3 separate regions of the Homo sapiens genome follow, and regions 2 and 3 are each linked to region 1. Evidence: promoter capture Hi-C in human tissues and cell types (Jung and others, 2019). All regions are on one chromosome and are shown on one strand. The core of a region is centred on a gene start or on the middle of the fragment in contact, and the rest is flanking DNA. Distances in the headings are between cores, read along the strand shown.

Region 1 (3,872 bases), core at 756-3,255:
AAAAGGGGGCATTTTCTGAAACACACACGACAGGTATTGTTTCTGCAGAAAAAAGAAGCACGTGTTTCACCACATTTGTCTAAGGAAAAGGGAAACTTCATTTACCATAACCTTAAGCAACGTTTTCACATGGACTGAAAAGCAAAAGACCCCCTTAAAAATTAGCCTCAAGCAGCAGATACTCTCTTTTTAGGTTTGTGTGTCTCCGTGAGGTCAGATGGATTCCCCAAACACGGTTTTAGAGAGAATCACAACCTTTAATAGATCCTCTGTTAAAAAAGACTGTTAGAGAAAGTTGACCAAGGGCTTCGTTCCACGGCGACCGTTTCCTGCGTGTGCAGCTCCACACAGCGACCGCGGCCTGCAATGTGCGGAGCACAGCGCGGCCCCTTCCAGCCGGAGCTCGCGAGCCGCGGTGGCGGCTGGTGGCCACCCCAGGGAAATAAAGCCGTTGCTGCTGCAGCAAAATGGCTCAAAGTCCAACCAAAGTCTGGCCTTTTCCTGTGAGTAAATACGCGGCCTGTTTGGTTTTCCGTCCCGAGTGATTCCCGGCTCAGTAACGTTTCTCCTCCAGGGAGCCCACTGGAACTCCACTGGCTGTGCCGCCTCCTCGCCCGTCCCCCGCGCGCGCCGCAGGCCGGTGCTTGGAGAGCGCAATGTCCCCGGGAGGGAAGATCCCCTACCTGGAATGGATGGTTCCAGACCAGCGGGAACGCGCTCTAATCCTTGATGGAAGCAAGCGTGGGAGGAAAGCACAACGTCTAGGACTTCCCTGTAGTGTCAGAACAGGAAGAAGAACCTGAGAAGTCGCCGGGGAAGGGAGGCCAGGAGCAGGCGTCCGGCCCCTTCCCACAGCCCGGGAGAAATTAGTGTTGCGCCCCGCCCCTCCCGGACCCCCGTCCCCACCACACACACCAGCGCCCCTCACCAGTCTTTCTCGAATTTCCTCTCATGTCTATCAATAACCTCCTTGTGCAGAAATCTACACTGCACAAGTTAGGAGTCTGCAAGGGCGGGCGGTGTTACAGTCTCGCTCTTTCCATTTTCCCCTTTTACTCCACATAGTTTCAAAGGTCCACATGGCCCTGGTTTTGACCAGTTTTCCAACAGTTTCAACGTTATGTATTTCAACTTCCCGTCTCAGTTCACTGGCGTCTGCACCCGTTGCCGAGTGTGGGTGGCTGAGCCCTGGGTGACAGCACTCGGGACCACGCACCCATACCCTTCTTTATGCTCGTTGTCAGCCAGTTGCCAAGAGCGGGAGTGAAGAGCCTGCAAGGCCCGGGAGAGCGCGGATTCCGGAGTAGGGAGGCGAGGGGGCAGCGTGGGAGACCAGAGGGAAAATGGGCTGAAAAGCCAACAAAAAAAACAACGTAAATTGGGCTTTGCTCTGGCTTTACAAAGGCAGAGATTGTCGAGCCCTCTGACTGTCTTTGTGCCTTCTTTATCCCGTCCTTTGTGAAATAAGCCGTTTTCTGCCCCCACTGCAGGAGCCTAGGCTGTGGGCGACTCGCTAGCACTGCCCTGGGCCTCCAAGCTGCCTGCTCGCTGAGCTCAGCGCTGACACTCACAGGAGCTGCGTTCGCCGGATCCTCTGAGAGGCTCTGCAACGATCCCGATCCAATTCAGCAGCGTTTTAAAAGGTAGCCGAGTGCAGATGCTTTTTCCTGTCTTTTTCATTCTTTCATTCTCTGTCTTTTAAAATTTTAACAATAACCTATCGTTTCCGCGTGGAGGGTCTAAGAATCTTCACTGGGTTTAATTTAGGAATTTCAAATTGGGTTTCTCAAAATTTGAATGTGGTCCCCTTAATTGGTAATCAAGATTGCGGAGTTTTCCAAAATATTCCTTTTCATCTTATGTAATTAAAGATCCACGAGCTTTCCAAAGAAGCTCTGGATTTTCCACGGTACAAATCTATATATTTTTTCTCTCTCTTCCTCTCTCTCTCTCTCTGCCTCTCTCGTGCGTGTATGTGCGCGCCCCTGTGCGTGCGTTTTCTTTCATTTCTGGCATTAGGAAACTCGTGCAGGGCCACTGAAAAGTCAGGGGAGGCTCAGATGTTATTTCCCAGGGATTCCTGTTTTTCCAGAAACGTTGTCACCAAATAAGTATGAGACTGTTAATTTGGAGAAACAATTAGCCCCTACAAAAAAAAAAAAGAAAGAAAAAAGAAAAAAAAAAGAACCGGAGGGGAGAAGGCTAGGGCGGAAGACAAGGAAGCTGCTGCTTGGATTCGCTGGTGGAGGAAAGTGCGACCTGGACCTGCGCTTAGGGGCTCCCGTCCCCTTACTTCAGCACCAGAGGGGATGGACAGCGTCTCCGGACTGAGCTGCAGCCACAGGGACGGAACTACGCTGCCGCCGCCGCTGTCCTTGCCGCCACTGTCGTCGCCACGGGCAGCTGGGCTACTTGCTCCTCGCAGCTAAAAGGCGGTGCCTCCTATTACCCCCTCGCCTCCCGGCCCCCTTCCTTAATGGATGAAAAGTACCCCTCCCTCTACACCTGCTGTACCTAAGGACAGGACTCTGAGGAGTACTCTTGCTCCACAGATTAAACTCTCAGCAGCAACTTCAAGAATCATTTTTCTATAGGGGTCTGGGAGGAATTCTGGAGGAGAGTAAAGTCGAAGTTCTTAGAAGCTCTGAGAAATCATGGGCCGTGCGGTAGGGGTTGAAATGCTCAAAGGTCCACACTTCTTGAAATAAACAGAATGGTCTTGAGTGGATTGCAACTGTTTTGGAAATAGCTTTGTGAAAAGAGGGTGGAGAGCTACTCAAAATTCTACGTTAGAGAGACTGAAAAGACATCTAATTTCATTGCTCGGCAGGTAAGTGATAGCGCTATTATTTTTGTTTTTTAAAATTCTAATGACTTGTCTTATGGTTTAACAGAAAGATCATAAGCAGTGTAATTTTTTCTGGGGTTAACGAGGAGACAAGCAATTTTGTTTTAAAATAATTGTTTCTGGATCATTGTGTGACAAGAAGAATCAAAATAACATACATGTTGCCTTACATAATTACAGTAAACTTTTAGCTGGCCATTTTTCTTATTGCTTATCTAATATCTTTTTGGATCTGGCATATCTTGTTTATTTTTTCCCAAAACTAATGCAATCGTTTGGCAAGATAATTTTGTTGTCTTATGTATGCCATAAAAAGTGATCCTGTCTGTGTTACATAGTATGCAAGACTAAAAAAGTTAAAATAGAGAGGGTTTAACCATGCCCTCTAACATATTTTATATTGTTATAATATACTAAACTATGCATGGGAACAAATACATGTATACATATACACCAGATTTCTCACTCCATGCCAACCTCCAAGTATACCTACACCTGTAGGATCTTACGTAAGGAGACACTCATATTTTTACTTAGCACCCTCTTTCCAGCCTTTGAAAGCTCAAGATTGCTTTCTCAAACCTGATCTGCCAGAAAGCAGAAAATGAGAAGCTTTAGTGTGCCTCTTTAGGAGAGCTGGATTTCAAAATCATTCTAACTTATTAGTTCTGCAAAATACATTTGTCAGTGAAATCCAGAAAGTGATAGGGACCAGTAGGTTCCCGAAAAACCATAAACTTTAAAATGCTAATTAAATCTGTTTTCTGTTGATTCTTATTTCTAGTTTTCCCCTGGAGCTTTAAAATTACAATCTTTCACAGTGACCTTGATAAGCATTCTGCTTTAATAAAAAGGGTTCACTGGGCAAAAGCAGTTACACAAATTTGTAACCCGTGCCTGACATTTCACTAAGAATCCGATCAATTCCAATGAGTACATTCAGTTCAGTGAAGAGTTTTGACTTGCAAGGATGGAATTTTACAGTCATGTAAATACATGTGATGAGATATTCATAATCAACTCT
Region 2 (3,872 bases), core at 780-3,279, 110 kb after region 1:
AAGACTTGAACAACACTATGAAAAAAGGTCTAGCAGATATCTAAATAACTCAGCACTTAATCACAGCAGAATGTAGCATTTTCTCAAGTGCACATGGAACAATAAAAAATACAAAAATTTGAAAGAAATTAAATGATTTCTAAATAAATAGACAGAAAATCCATGTCCATCAATCATAAGACTTAACATTACTAAGCTGGCAATATACCTTGCATTAATCTACAGATCCTACATAATCCCTGTAAAAATCCTAGCAAGTGTTTTGCATAAATTTTTATGATGCTTATAAAATTTGTATGGAAAGATAATGATTCAGAATAGTAAAAACAAGCTTGAGGAAGAATATTTATGGAGGTCTCACCTTTCCCAATGTCAAAACCTATTTTAAGCTTCAGTAATAAAGACACTGAGGTATTGGCATATGGATAGAAGTATAGATCACTTCAGAAGTAAGACTTTACATTTACACTCAACTAATTTATGACAACAGTGCCAAGATCATTCAATGGAGAGGGAAAATTCTTGTTAACAAATGTTCCTGGGACAACTGGATATGCAAAGAATGAGTTTTGACCTCTACCTCACACCTTACTCAAAAATCCACACAAAATGGACTGTAGACATGAATGTAAGATCTAAAGTAATAAAACTAGAAAAAGACATAAGAGTAAACGTTCTTGACTATGTGTTAGGCAATGTTTTTGCTGTTGTTGTTTCGCTTTTTACTTATGATATCAAAAGCAAAAAAGATAGATAAAATGGACATTATCAAATTAAAAACTTGTGTATCAAAGAGCACCAAGAAAGTGAGAAAACAATGCATAGAACATAAGAATATGTTAATACATCATATATATGGATCTAGATAAATTAGATAAATGCAAATTAAAGCCACAGTTTTGCTTCACACTCACTAAGATGGTTATAAACAAAGAAACAAAAAATAACAAGTGTTGGCCAAGATGTGGAGACATTGGATCCTTTGTACATTGCTGCTGAAAACTGGTGCAAGCCACTGTGAAAACAATTTGGCAGTTCCTCAAAAAATTAAACATAGAATTGTTATATGATCCAGCAAATCTACTCCTAGGTATATACCCAAGGGAAATAAAATAATATCCTAGCAAAAATAGAGATAGAAAGTAGACTAGAAGTTGACAAAGCTGGGTCTGGGGAAGGGTCAAGGAAAAGAAGAGAAGATGAATGATTGCTAATACGTGTGGGAATTATTTTGTAATTGATGAGAAAGGTCCCAAAATTCTATTACAATAAAGGCTGAACAACACTGTAAATATACTAAGATGGAAGTGAATATTTTAAATGGATGGATTTTATAGTATGTGAAATGTGTCTCAGTAAAGCTGCAGAAAAATTTTCATTGTCTTTCTGATAGATTTGAAGAAAATGATGTAAGTTCTTTTACTTGGTAAGACGTTCAGTCTTGAGAGTGGTTTTCAGGGACAGACTTATAAACAGAAAATACAAACGAGTGTGCATAGGTTCCTGCAATGTATTAAATTACCTTAAGATGGATAAAGAACAGTGTATTAGTTGAGTGAAATCCAAAGAAGCTCTTTTTACACTTCCCCCTTGTTCTTAATAAAGTCTCTTAGTTTATCTTGCTTTCTGTATCTATCTATGAAAAATTTATCTGAACTATTAATGCATCTGTTCATCATACACTCATGTGCCCATTCATTCATGTATCCATGCATGGGTTCTTTCAATTCACTTTAAGAACCTCTTAATTCAAAGAAAGAGACCTGATAAAACTGATTCATACATTCTGTGAAAACATAAACAAAATCAAATAACCCCCCAAAGACACAAGGAAATGTTAAGAGTAGAGAGTAATATGATAATGAGGAAATGACTGTAGGCATATGAGATTGAAATACAATTGTACAAACTAGTGTTTGCATAGCTGTTGTCTATGCTGAGGTCCTGCTGGGTGTGAAACATCATAAGCAGTGCTATCATGCATGTCAAGAGACATAAGAGTGTCCTCTAAACAGAGGTGTTATTTTATCCCACTTGTCAAACTGAGAGGCTGTGAAAATATTGTAATCTTTCCAAAGTTATTAAGACACTAAAACAGATGGCAATTTGACAGCAGAATCCATGACCACTTCTATTGTTAACCTTTAGAAAAAAAATCAGGAACTAATTGAGCCTTTTGTGCCACTATACTCTATCTTCAGCATGGGATTCCCCATTTACATTGTGTATTAAACAGCACCTGGAATGGTTATTTCTTACTGAGCATTGACAAATCTGGAATCCTAAAGGAAAATGTTTTGCTTTGATGTAAAGCTCTTCCCCTCCTCCTCTTTTATCTTGTATTACTTGTTTTTTCATTTAATTAGAGAAGATAACGCTTCCCTCAGTACAGAGTGAATAATAAGCCTTTACTTTCTTGGGATTGGTTTTGACATATTTACACAAGGTCTTAGATGGGAGACACAGACAAGGCTTCCTACACAGCTGCCAGGCTGCTATTCATCTCTCTTTAAAATCATTGGTTTTAATGCAAGCACAGCCAAGCCAAGTTTATTAATTACCTTTGTGAATAGTAAACTTTATATGTACAATGCAATCATTTAGGAGATAATAAAGTTTCAATTGCATTCTCTTTGAAATATATTTTATCTGTAAAATATTTTCTTCTTATAATAATGATTGTCTAATTCATTTAGGCACATCATTAATCTGCATGGATTTTATTGTTGTTTGATTGGTTTTGATACACACACATCTTTTTACAAAGGGGCTATTTATTGGAGAGCAGATGGTGAAAATGCATAGACTACACCCCTGCATAGATTGATGATTTGTAATCTGAGAAGCTATGATAGGGAGGAGAGTGAAAATGCTTTTATTCTCAGGTTATAAATGGACGATCCAATGCACCTTGGATTTTTTACTTTATGTAGGACAAAAAGGCATTATTTACTTATGTAGTTGATATGCCCATGGATTCTAAGAAATCTGATGGGAAAATGAAAAACTCCATTATAAATGGATTCTTCATCCTAATCTAACATTTTAGATATGGGCAATCTAGAGTTTCTCAAATTGCAATCTACAGGCCTGCTACCTCAGAATCCTTTTAGCCATTGATATGACTAGGGGCTACTCTTAATCTACTGTGATGAATATCTTTGGTTGGGCAGAGGAGGTGGCATTTGAACCACAGTTCCAGGTATTGCTTTTGCCCACAAAAGCCTGAGTACTCCTAAGGTTTTTCTGTGGGTGTTCACCAGAGCTAATCCCACTCAATAAAACTGGCTCTGGCAAATTTCCATGATTCCAGAGTTGATTTTCAAATGAAAGAGCTATAAGTTATATCTATAATCTTCCAACATGACTTCCTCAATTGTATCTACATTGTCATTGTTTCTCACCACCTTTATTTGAATCCTGTCAATTTTACTCTTGTTTGTTTTGCTGTCTGTTGTCACAGCTGGTACAGATTCTAGTTTATCCTTTCCAGATTTGAAACTTCTCTTACTTTCTCCCACTAATACCATATATATGGTCAATGGCTCATTTCCTCAAATCCTTGTTAGATTATAATATTTAATTTGATGAATTCATTTCTCCCATGAGTTAATTAAGCTAATGAAATTTTCTGTATGTATTAACTAACATGAGAACTCTGGGAACTCTAGTGGGTCTGGAGGGTCAATCCTGTATCATGGTGCTGATCAGTTATGTGGTTTCATGATCACAAATAACCCTTATCAAGCATCTTCTGCTGGACACTGTATGTGGGGCATGGTGCCCCAAGCCCAAAATCCCAGCATGTTGGGAGCCCAAAGTGGGAGGATCACTTGATCCCCAAGAGTTTGAGACCAGCCTGGGCAACACAG
Region 3 (3,872 bases), core at 643-3,142, 71 kb before region 1:
GCTCAAAATAATTCTCATGCCAAAGTGGCATATTTTGAGTGGCATATTCTGCTACCCTTCAAAAGTTTGGCAAGCTGAGTGGATAGACATCGTTCTGAGATAATCCAAGAAAATAGTCACAGAACTCTCACCTGTGCATGAAGTGGACAAGGATGTATTCTTGAAGAGCCGGCTTGGCGCAGTGGCTCACACCTGTAATCCTAGCACTTTGGGAGGCTGAGGCAGGTGATGCTTGAACCTGGGAGGCAGAGGTTGCAGTGAGCCAAGATCATGCCACTGCACTCCAGCCTGGGTGAAAGAGTGAGACTTTGTCTCAAAAAAAAAAAAAAAAGAAAAATGTAAGAGCCTATGTGTCCCCTTAATGCTGATTGTGACCTGCGGCAGTATGGAGGTGAAGGAGTGATGGGCGACCCCTGTTTTCTGAGTGCATCAGTGACAGGTTCACCTGCCTTCCTCACCTTCCGTCTGTCAAACTCTTGCCTCGCTACTGATGGGCCTCTCTTCTCCTTTTCCTCACACAATTCTTCTCTGTTCTCTTTACTTCCTTTGTGTTGTTGTTTGCTAATTTCACTCTGCGCTCATATTTGGGCCTTATCTGAAAATGGCTGTGAAGCTTGTCATGGTGCGCCTACTATTGTAATTGGATGCACAGCATGGGTTCTGTTTTTGCCTTTGTTTCACAAAGCAAGGTACAAATGATTGGTTTCTAATGCTATTTTGAAAGTGGTTGATTTTCATCTGAATTAAACTGTGTTTATTTTCAGCTCCATGCTTGTATGTTGGGGGAAGGGCATATGTGTGTGTGGGCATGTGTGTATGTGAGATTCAGAATCAATTCCTACTTTCTCCATAGCATGATACCCATAGCAATTCATTCTTAACAGGGAAGATTACAATTGAGGTCAATCATCCCTTCAAATTTGCTCATAAATACATTCATAGAATGACAATTTTGGATGAAAGGAAATATATAATAAATGAGAATAAAAAAGTATATTGACGATGTGCTTGAAACATTGAAAAAAGAAAAGTCAGTCATTAAAGACTTTTAAAAAATTGCTTGATTAATAATGATTGAGTTTTTATATTTTATCCAGATTTATTAACTTTCATGATACAAAATACTCCTAAGTGATTTCAGAAACTACCAAATATATTTATCCCAAGTCATTCTAGTTTTAAAAATTAATAACTTTTGCATAAATGCTGGACTACAGAGTCCCTATGAACATTGCTCAATGGCTTTTACTATAATTGAAACATGAAAAGTTCCAATCAGTACATTTAATGGTGTTGGACTCTAAAGATTTCTATATGCAAAGAAGTGTGAATTAAAAACAACTGTTAAAGTAATTACAATCTCCTTCAGTGAAACTTTATGGAGTCTCTTTCTGCTACTTCTAGTGAAGCTCCTCATTGGCATACTCTCACTATACAGGTTTTTAATTAAATTATTCCTTGATTATGTTACCCCAATTCCATATTCCTTGTAGACCCAAATTCTTACCCAAAATCCTAGTTGTCATCTCACTAACACAACATGTTTCCTCTTGTCATGGTCCTGTCTTCCTAGCCAAACTGAAGCTGAGCAGCCCTCAGGTCCTGTGTTATCTTGGGAACTGCATCGCTTCTTGAGCTCTCTTTTCTGAGATCACAAATGTCGATTTTCGAAGCAGCTATTTTAATGCTTCACAAATTTACATCTTATACAAAAATGTGTGTGTACAGTAGTGTTGCGGTAAGGAAGACATGAATTACATGGAAACATATCTCCCCAGGCTAATAAAACAACAGTGTCACTAGCTCACGTTTCTGAACATCTTCAAATTTTTTCTCAAGCAAATGATGCAATCATTATTTTTAAATATTTGCATTGAATATTGACGTCGTTTCTCTAGTCTTATCTGTTCTTGAGGCTCGGGATCTGTGCTCTGCTTTTTGCTGAGCTGGTTCTAGGTTTGTATTGATTTATTCATTCCCTTCAGAGTTTCCTTGGAATTTTGTCTTTCACCCTTGGACTCCTATTAACTCTCTTTTCCCAATTATCATGAATGATGTTCCTGTCTACCTATGATCCTTCAGGGATCTGAATTCAAGGGAAACTGGTATAACTTAATGTTGTCCATTAGTTTCTTTGAATTTCTTCATCTTCTCTCATCTTTCTTCAGAAGAATTCAGACTAATATGTATTTTTAATTTATTCTAATGAAATATCTCTTATAGAATTTACTTAGCATTAACCATGATTCAAGCACTGCAATAAATTCTTTGGTAGATATAATTATTCTCCCTTTTGTATGAAGAAACCAAGACTTAGAAATTGAATAATATTTCAAAGTTCATGTAGGTATTAAGGGTTGGAAATAATATGTAAACCTAGGCGTGTGTAATTTTACAACTCAGCTCAAACCACTTATTATATGGCTTCTCATTTTTAGAGATTCTTAATGTTGGAATCGAGAATACTCTAAAAGTGTGATATGTAGCTCTTCCCTGGGAAAATATATTATTTTTTATCATATAAACCATAGTAATTTAATAATACAAACCACAGTAACTTTTATCAAATGAGTAAAAAGAGAATTATACTTTTCTATAATTAAATATTTAGTTAAATATGTATATACTAGTAGGGATATAGCTTCTACATACTGCTTGTCTCCTATCCTCTGGTTTTTGTTTTTCTTTTTAACTTAGGGAGGAGCTGGGCTTATGGTGGATATTGGATATTTGATACAGATACAATCATACTTTTAAAAAATTTTCTTATTGCTTTGTTAGATATTTTAATATAACTATTTTCTATTTTTTACATAAGCATTTTAAAGTTATTCATAATAGCTGTATAACATTCAACCATGTGGATAAACCAAATTCAATTAAAAATTGTTCATATCCTATGTTTAATACGATTCTAATTTTTATATGTTAAAAGATTCCTGTGTTTTTCCTTATAAGTAATGAATTCATTAAGTATCCTTTTTAGAAACTTTTAATTTTATAAGATTTTTTAATAGAAAAGTTGAGAAGGTTCGATATATATCTAGTATATCTAGTATCTCTATCTAGTATATAGAGATATACCTAGTATATCTATACTAGATATACAGAAAGTTTCTGTATGTCTAACATTCAAATCAATTTTGATACATTGTTATTAAGTAAAGTCCATAATCTATTAAGATTTCCTTAGTTTGTACTCAGTGTCTTTTCTTGTTCTAGGGCCCCATCCAGGATTCTGCATTTGATTTAGTTACCGTGACTTCCAGGTTCCTCTTGGTGGCACCACTTTCTCACATATCCCTTATTTTTAATGACCTTGACAGTTTTGAGGAATACTGATCAAGAAATTTGTAAAGTGTTCCTCTGTTAGGATTTATCTGTTTTTCCATTTCAGACTGGGGTTATGGGTTATGGGTTTTTGAATAGGTGAAGCTTGATTTTCATCCATCCTACGAAGGGTATACACCATCAACATGACTGATCTCTGTTGATACTGACCTTGACCACCTGGCTGAGGTAATGTTTGCTAAGATTCTGTGCTGCAAAGTTACTCTTTCCTCTCCTTTTCTATATTGTATTCTTTGACAGAGGTCACTATGTGCAGCCTACACTTCAGGAGTGGGAAGTCATGCTATACCTATGATAGCAACAGGAGACAGAGAAATTCTAGGTAGACAGTGGCAGGTCCCTGGCAAAGCCCCACCTTCAAGCTGAAAAGCCTCACACCATGGCCCAAAGTGAGAACTGACATCCCTGTTTTCCTGCTTGAATGTTGCCTTTTCCAAAACCACTCATGGCCCTGTCTCACCACTCCCATCCTGTGCCTATAAAAACCCCATATTCAACTGGCAGGGAGGAGAAACAGCTGG

The links. Contacts are between HindIII fragments. The study calls those that stand out against the background at their distance.
Region 2: a contact is called between a fragment that was not itself captured here and the fragment with the promoter of SNTG1 in region 1, in 2 of the 25 tissues and cell types used here (heart left ventricle and ovary).
Region 3: a fragment that was not itself captured here is called in contact with the fragment with the promoter of SNTG1 in region 1 in 2 of the 25 tissues and cell types used here (liver and mesendoderm cells).

What each region holds. Positions count from the first base shown.
Region 1 is chr8:49,909,402-49,913,273 of GRCh38, forward strand. SNTG1 (syntrophin gamma 1) reads left to right here and starts at 2,006. Exons shown (of 19, transcript NM_018967.5): 1 at 2,006-2,830. RefSeq lists an enhancer at 911-1,855. The HindIII fragment of the contact is 7,737 bases long and covers 1-3,872 here.
Region 2 is chr8:50,017,884-50,021,755 of GRCh38, forward strand. All of the region lies in intron 1 of SNTG1 (syntrophin gamma 1), which reads left to right. Among named protein-coding and RNA genes, the nearest start is that of SNTG1, 110 kb to the left of the region's middle. The HindIII fragment of the contact is 8,781 bases long and covers 1-3,872 here.
Region 3 is chr8:49,838,245-49,842,116 of GRCh38, forward strand. No RefSeq gene overlaps it. Among named protein-coding and RNA genes, the nearest start is that of SNTG1, 71 kb to the right of the region's middle. RefSeq lists an enhancer at 3,750-3,872. The HindIII fragment of the contact is 4,606 bases long and covers 1-3,872 here.